Linked DNA regions of Homo sapiens: region 1 is linked to region 2. Evidence: promoter capture Hi-C in human tissues and cell types (Jung and others, 2019). All regions are on one chromosome and are shown on one strand. Each heading gives the region's core, a stretch centred on a gene start or on the middle of the fragment in contact. The rest is flanking DNA. Distances are from core to core; before and after follow the strand shown. Region 1 overlaps CHST12 (carbohydrate sulfotransferase 12). Region 2 holds the start of LFNG (LFNG O-fucosylpeptide 3-beta-N-acetylglucosaminyltransferase).

Region 1 (4,159 bases), core at 1,588-4,087, 92 kb after region 2:
AAAGAATTGAAATATTTTATATAAAGGAATAAAACTAGAAATCAATAACAGAAAAGACAACAGGAAAATCCACAAACACAAATTCCTGGAAAATAAATGACACATTTCTAAATAATAGCAAAGGAAAAAGTTAAAGTACACAGAATAGAATGAGAATGAAAATACAACATATGTTACAGTCACTGTGGTGCCAAGAGCATTAGAAAGCAGAAAAGGCCGGGCACGGTGGCTCTCTCCTATAATCCTAGCACTTTGGGAAGCCGAGGCGAGAGGGTCTCTTGAGCCCTAGAGTCCAAGACCAGCCTAGACAACATGGCAAAACCCCATCCCTATAAAAAATGCAAAAATCTGCCGTGCATGGTGGCATGCACCTGTAGTCCTAGCTACTCTGGAGGCTGAGGCAGGAGGATCGCTTGAGCCCAGGAGGTCAAGGCTGCAGTAAGCCGAGATCGTGCCACTGCCCTCCAGCCTTGGTCTTAGCAAGACCAAGACCCTGTCTCAAAAGAAAAACAAAAACAAAAAACCAACCAAACAAATGAAAAAAACCTACAAATTATCTTTATCAGGAACAAGACAAGGAATGAAATTATAGATCCTGCAGCCATTGAAAGGATAAGGAACTATTACAAACAATTTTACGCCCACAAATTTAGCAACCTAGATGAAACAGACCAATTCCTTGACAACCACAAACTACCAAAATGAATAATCCTATACTAATTAAAGAAACTAAATTTGTAACGTAAAAGCTCCTTAAAAAGAAATCTCTGGGCCCAGATGGTTTCACTGAAGAATTCTATCAAACATTCAAAGAATAACAACATCAATTTTATACAATCTCTTACAGAAAGGAGAAGAGAGGACATGTCCAACTCATCATCCTAATACCCAAACCAGTGAAAATAAGTACAAAAAAAAAGAGGCCGGGCGTCGTGGCTCACGCTTGTAATCCTAGCACTTTGGTAGGCTGAGGCAGGAGGAACACCTGAGGTCAAGGAGTTCAAGACCAGCCTGGCCAACATGGCGAAACCCTGTCTTGTAGGGAGACCCCCTGAAACTATTGCTATGGAATAAAAGATGAAATGCTCCTGATTACTGTAAATACAAAGTTGCATTCAGGATTGTGTAAAGACAATGCCAGGTTGGACTGTCAGAATGAGCCAACAGCACGTGATATGCTTCCCCCTGCAGAGAGCCTATGAACGGACATGCAGTCAGGGAGCTTTCACATCACCAAGATTCCTATCCCAGAAAAGCAGATGTTCATAGCTCTGGGAATGGAATGCGACCCTTGTGGAGAGCCTACAAACGGACGCATGGGGGGCGCCTGTCCATATGGATAAGATAGTGCTATAAACGCCCTCATCTTGCCACGGCTCTTCTAGGCCTCTTTAGGGTTAAGGCATACTCCCTTCTGAGAATTTCTGGTCTAACTGGCTGTCTAGCTTCACGTCCTGTTTCTATGGATTGTTTGTAACCAGCTTTTGCTGCAACTATTACTGCTGATTAATATCTTGCTAATCATAGGTTATGGAAAGCCTGTGTTTCTGTTTTAAGGCTGTTAGAAATTACTGATGCACATGCTATATTGTAAATTCTTATCTCTGTATACTGTACTTCTGCATACAGATGTTATGTTAAAGAATTACTTCATCCCCATGTGACCATCTCACCTCATAATCAAATGACCCTAAATCCCTCACTAACCTACCCCCGCCCTCACTAAACTTAATAATAAATGCTGGTATATCCAGTGCATTGGCGGCATCGCAGGACCAGAAGGCGGTCACCCCCCGGACCCAGCTTTCACTGTCTTGTGTGTGTCTATTATTTCTCGACCTGCTGATCCGCCTGGGAACAAATAAAAGAGCCCCGTTGCATTGTGGGCTTCTGGCCAGATCCCACAATACCGTCTCTACTAAAAAATACAAAAAATTAGCTGGGCATGGTGGTGGACGCCTGTAATCCCAGATACTCAGGAGGCTGAGGCAGGAAAATCACTTGAACCCGAGAGGCAGAGCTTGCAGTGAGCCGAGATTGTGCCACTGCACTCCAGCCTGGGTGATAGAGCAAGACTCTGTCTCAAAAAAAAAAAAAAAGAGAGAGAGAAAGCTACAGGCCAATATCACTTATGAACTTGGATGCAAAAATGCTCAAAATATTAATAAACCAAATCCAGCAGTGTATAGAAAGAATCACAGCATAGTGACTCACGCCTGTAACCCCAGCACTTTGGGAGGCCGAGGTGGGTGGATCACGAGGTCAGGAGATCCAAACACGGTGAAACCCCGTCTCTACTAAAAATACAAAAAATTAGCTGGCCATGGTGACGGGTGCCTGTAGTCCCAGCTACTCGGGAGGCTGAGGCAGGAGAATCGCTTGAATCTGGGAGGTGGCGGTTGCAGTGAGCCGAGATCGCACCACTGCACTCCAGCCTGGGTGACAGAGCAAGACTCCATCTCAAAAAACAAACAAACAAAAAGGAGTCACGGCATGACCAAGTAGGGTATGCAAGAACGGCTCAATGTTCAAAAATCAACCATGTAATCTATCATATTAACAAGCTAAAAAATCAACTCCTACAGGAAGGAACAACAAAACCCATATCCATTCATTATAAACACTCTCAGCAAACTTAGCAAAGAGGATATCCTCAACTTATAGGGCATCTACAAACACCCTACAGCTGTACCATTTTTCTATCATCTCTGTAGGGGGGGGTGGCAGATGGAAGGCCCAAACTGTGTTGAACTTTTCATCTTCAAACAAATGTGTAAACTTTTTTTTTTTTTTTTCAAGACAGAGCCTTGCTCTGTCACCTAAGCTGGAGTGCAGTGGCACAATCACAGCTCACTGCAGCCTTGACCTCCTAGGCTCAAGTGATCCTCCCGTCTCAGCCTTCCAAGTAGCTGGGACTGCAGATACACACCACTGGGCCGGGCTAATTTTTAAAAATTTTTTATAGAGTTGTGGTCTCACCATGTTAACCCGGCTGGTCTTGAACTCCTGGGCTCTAGCAAGCTGGCCACCTCGGCCTCGCAAAGTGCTATGAATTTCTTAAACTGAGTATTTTTACATTTGTATGTCTCTCTCTCTCTCTTTTTTCTTTTGTGAGACAGGGTCTCGCTGTGTCACCCAGGCCGGAGTGCAGTGGCATGATCTTGGCTCACTGCAACCTCCGCCTCCCGGGTTCAAGTGATTCTCATGCCTCAGCCTGGCCACCTCGGCCTTGCAAAGTGCTACAAATTTCTTAAACTGAGTACTTTTTCATTTATATGTCTCTCTCTCTCTCTCTTTTTCTTTTGTGAGACAGGGTCTCGCTGTGTCACCCAGGCTGGAGTGCAGTGGCATGATCTTGGCTCACTGCAACCTCCGCCTCCCAGGTTCAAGTGATTCTCATGCCTCAGCCTCCCAGGCAGCTAGGATTACAGGTGCCCACCCTGACACCCGGCTAATTTTTGTATTTTTAGTAGGGATGGAGCTCCACCATGTTGGCCAGGCTGGTCTTGAACTCCTGACCTCAAGTGATCCACCTTCCTCGGCCTCCAAAGTGCTGGGATTACAGGCATAAGCCACCACACCCGGACTGTATGTCTCTCCTGTCACTCTTGTATGTTATATTTTTTTAATATTAGCAACAATCTGAGTGCTTTAAAAAAAAAAACCTACAGCTAACCTCATAATTAAGGGTGCAAGAGTGAGTACCTTACCACCAAGATCATGAACAAGGCAAGGACATCTGTCTACCCGCCCCTGCCCCGTCATCAGTAGACACCTACTCATCCCCAGCTCAGCGAAGTCTTTCCCAGTTGGGTCAAATCCCAGACTATGCACTCTCCATAGGTCCCATCAGCAACTGTGTGCTTATTTGGGGTGTGTATGTTTAATTACTCCCGCTCTCACTCACATAGCTGGGGAGGGTGGGCTCCGTCTGGTTGTGCTCACCACGTGCATGCACATGGTAGGGTGCAGTCAATACCGAGTGAATCTCAGGCTCAGAGGCCCCCATCACATCAGCCTGGCTCTGAAGCCCCTTGTGACCAAGCCCCTGAGGTTCCATGCCAGGTCCTATCCTGGGGCAACCCTGGGCCACCTTCCTGCCTTGGCTTCTTGCTAAGGACGTTGGTTCCTTTACAGAAATGAGTCCCAGCCCCCTGAA
Region 2 (3,966 bases), core at 1,467-3,966:
TGGCCGCTGTGGTGGCAGCGCGGCAGCCTGGCTGCTCCTGGGAGGGGCGGGGAACCTCTGGGCCAAAGGCCAGGCTCTTCATCCTGGACTCCAGGCCCATCTCAGCGCGGCCCCTGCTGACCAACCGACCCTCCCCCCAGCCACCACTCCAGTTGCTAGAAGTTTCCTGCACAACCCCCATGCTGTGGTCATCACCATGCCCGGATGGAGTGCCCTTTCTGGGCACTTTTTTACTCTTAGTCTAGCTCAAATGGCGCCTCCTCCAGGAAGTCTTCCCTCCTCCCTCCCTTCCCCCAGCATGTGGGTCAGATGCCCACTGTTGCCTCACACAGCCTCTCGGGGTTTTCCCCCCGCACAGCCCTGACATCTTTCTATCTCCCCCATCAGACCATGTCTGAGTCATTCCGTGCAGGGCTGGGAGAGGGGGGCCCTCTTCTGTGGGTTTCCAGGACCCCTGCCCATCACCCACCACAAGGGGGTCTTTGCTTGCTGTGTGCTGGTGAACTGATGCTGAGGGCAGATTCAACCTGTCCCCTGGTGGGGTGACCCTCCAGTAGGGACCTCAGGGCTCAAGGGAGTGATGGCCCCCACCTCGACCCTGAGTGCCCGCCGGGTTCACCCCATGCCTGCAGGCTTTGCCAGTCTCTTACAACGTGCTCCTGGAAGGACCATGTTCCCCCATTTCAGAGATCAGAGTGAGGGTCTGAGAGGCCCCAGGTCTTGCTCAGGATCACACAGCCCAGCCCTCTGACCACATCCCCTCTGTTGGAGAAAGGCCCCAAATTCCAAGATGAGAGGTGCTCAGAGCTGGTGGTAGCCCAGAGTGGGGCTGAAGGATGCCCAAGATCACATAGCAGTAAGGCTTGAGTGCTGGGGGTGGGGGGGCCAGGCTCAGGGATGGTGCCCCAAAAGGACTGTCAGTAAGAGATGCTGGGGGGGCCCGCTGGTCCCCTCATCGCCAGGCAACCTGAGTGGCCAGCACGCCAGCAGCGGTTCCCACGGAGCGCGTAGCTGCACACAAGGGGCCCGACGCCTTTCTCGCTGGAGAAAGGGGCTTTGTTACCTTGCCCAAGGGGCCGGCGTGAGAGCCGCCCGGCGCTGGGAATCCTAACGGCCCGGCCGCCAAACAAAACCCACGGCCCCCGCCGCCCCCTCCCGCCAGCCCGCTGAGCCCCTGGGAATGGGACGCTGTGTTCCCAGGAGGCTGCCATGGGGTTCCCAGGGCCCCTTCCCCACGCCAGGACCAGGGAGGACCCTGCCCCTCCCCGTCGCCCTCATGACCTCACCAAGCCCTGCTCCCACCCACCCACAGTGCCCCAAAACAGGACAGCGCCAGGTCAGAAGGCCCTGGGTCTCCGGGGTTTGAGCAGGGAGGAAGGCGTGCAGGGTCTTCCCTGAGCCCCCACCCTCACAGCAAATGCCTCTGCATCTCCCAGCCCAGAGACACCCCCCCAGTCCCCGACTGCAAGCCCCACACACTGTCCCCATCCCGCCCCAGCCCAACCGTCCTGCTGTGGCCTCGAGGGAAATGTTCAAAGTGGGGTGTGTCTTAATTATGTGTGTGTAAGAAGCTGATGCCCAACTGAAGTGGGCTGTGCCCAAGGTTGCAGGCCTCAGAGACTACTGCACTGTGCGGGGAGGGTCCCCACACAGACCCCAAAACCTGGAGTTCTTTGAGATGTACTCCCCAGGACCCACCAACCAGCAATGACTTCCCTCCCTCCCCGTACCTTAACACTGTGATGAGGAAAGGGCCCAGAGGTCAGAACCCCTCACTTCTCTAAAGGAAGAGCCTTTCTCCCCAGGAAGGGGTCTGAGCTGAGGGTGGGTCCGAACAGAATTTGCTTGTGGAAGTTTGAGGACATAATGCCCTATGAATGCGCTCCAATGTTTACGGGGTGAGAAGTATCACAGGGCACCAACCCCAAGCACTGGAGACTGGTGTAGGGTCCTGCAGCCATCCAGGACTCTGGAGCTGGACAGGAGGCGGGGCCCCGGGGACAGTAACACAACTGTAACGGGAGAGTGGCCCCAGCAGGCAAACTGGGTGCACCGGGGTGCACTGGCGTCGCCCACAGATGGCCCTAGTGGCTGGATGGGGATGCAGCCTGACTCCCATGGGACACTGCCACCAGCTGGACCAGATGGTGGGTCCCCGCCCCGCTCGCCCGCCAGTCCAGGCCGCGGGGGGCTCACCATCTCCTTGTGGCGCGAGATCCAGGTCTCCAGCAGCAGGTCGAGGCGCGCGCGGTGGAACTTTTTGGTGGTCTTGACAGCGATGAAGACGTCTCGGGGCGCGAGCGGCTCGGCCAGGGGGCGCGGGTGGCCGTCGGCGGGGCGGGGGGCAGCCCCGGGCGGCGGGCCCGCATCTCTGCGCGCGCGGGTGAGCAGGCTGAAGTACTCGGACAGACTGTGCACGTCGCGGACCAGCGCCCCGGGCGCCGCCGCCGCCGCCCCCAGCCCGGGCGCCGGGGCAGCCCCCGCGGGGCCCGCCAGGCTGCGCAGCGCGCGCCGGCCGCGCTCGGCGGGCAGTGGAGGCGGCGGCGGGTCGGCGGTGAGCACCAGCAGGCAGGCGAGCAGCGCGCCCGCCAGCGCCAGCAGCAGGCGCCGGCCGCAGCGCTTGAGCATGGTGGGGTGGCGGCCGCGCGGCGCGCCCTTCCCCGTGCGCCTGCCTTGCACCGACCCGAAGCCCGTCGCTCCGGCGGCGCAGTCCAGCAGCGCAGCACCAGTGTCCCGCGCTCTTAAACCTCCCCGCCCCGGTCCCGCCCCCGTGCGCTCATTGGCTCCCGGGCTCGGGGGCGGGGCCTCGCGCCGGTCGCCGCTCCACGCCCGCAGACCCACGTGGGGCCGCGGCTGGGGGCTGGGAACTGCCCAGAGGGCGCAGCGGCCCCGCCCCCGGCGCGCACGTGCACGCCCCGCACCCCCCCCGCCCCGGGTAGCCCCTGCGGGCCGCCGAGGGGCTTGGGGACGGGCCCGGCCCGCGCCGGTGTCCCTGAAGAGGAAACCCAGCCTGGCCAGCGCCGTCCGGGGATGCACCGGGCGTCCCGGCACGGGAGGGGCGCGCCCTCGGCGCAGCGGGCAGGGTGCTGAGACCCGGGCTCTGGGCTCCGACGCACCGCGGGGGACATCCTACTTCCTCGCTGTGCGCTTCCCCTCCTGAGCACGGCTTCCTCCCCTTGGGACGCGGCAGGCCTTGCAAACTGGGGTGGCGCCTGGGTCTTCCCGAGCGCTCGGTTCAGGGGAGCCGTTATTTGTACAGAGCAAGAGCTTGGCCACCTGTGCCGCAGGTGGGGACACGAGGTTCTAACGAGAAAGCACCAGAACCAAATTCCACTCCTTCCTCCCTGGCTGATTTCCTCGATCCTGGCCCTCCGTCGGGAGGGTTGGCTCCCCGAAATCCTCAGGCGCCCCATGGCGAGGAGAAACGAAGGCCGCCACTTCCCTCGCCGGATGAAAGGCCGCCTTCTGTCCCATTTGGTCTCCTTGCGCTCGGGCCAGATGCGGCCCAGCTGTGCGCCCTCCCCACCCCGCCTCCCCGGCACACGGCCCCCATCCCCGGCCCTTCCCACGGGCCCGGGCCCGCCCCTCGCACGAGCGGGGGCGGCAGGAATGCGCGCCGGCAGCCGAGGGTGAGGGGCGAGGGGCCCGGAAGTGGCCAAGGGTCGCCTGAGCAGGGTGTGAGCCCCCTGCCCGCCACGTCCTCCGGAAGCGTGGACGGAGGCGGCTCTGCCCGTGGCTGCGCTGTCTTCCCGTGCCCTCCTAAGCAGGGTCTCTGCGACCACCACGACCACCACCGCCACCACCGTGGCTAAACTGCCCCCCTCGGAGTTATGTTCACGCCTGAGATGGCATTTTAAATTCTTTAAGTGCCCTTGGAGCCCCTCTCCTTACCTCTACCTGAATGTCAGCCGCAAGACAGCAGCGACCTGGTGTCATTCAGACCTGGAACAGGTTTTGGGACATAGT

Evidence for each region. Contacts are between HindIII fragments. The study calls those that stand out against the background at their distance.
Region 1: a contact is called between a fragment that was not itself captured here and the fragment with the promoter of LFNG in region 2, in 2 of the 25 tissues and cell types used here (lymphoblastoid cells and spleen).

What each region holds. Positions count from the first base shown.
Region 1 is chr7:2,426,138-2,430,296 of GRCh38, reverse strand. All of the region lies in intron 1 of CHST12 (carbohydrate sulfotransferase 12), which reads right to left. Among named protein-coding and RNA genes, the nearest start is that of CHST12, 25 kb to the right of the region's middle. The HindIII fragment of the contact is 4,686 bases long and covers 495-4,159 here.
Region 2 is chr7:2,518,524-2,522,489 of GRCh38, reverse strand. It overlaps LFNG (LFNG O-fucosylpeptide 3-beta-N-acetylglucosaminyltransferase), which reads right to left and starts at 2,716. Exons shown (of 8, transcript NM_001040167.2): 1 at 2,197-2,716. The coding sequence starts at 2,628. RefSeq lists enhancers at 380-439, 480-609 and silencers at 2,541-2,650, 2,661-3,190. The HindIII fragment of the contact is 23,923 bases long and covers 1-3,966 here.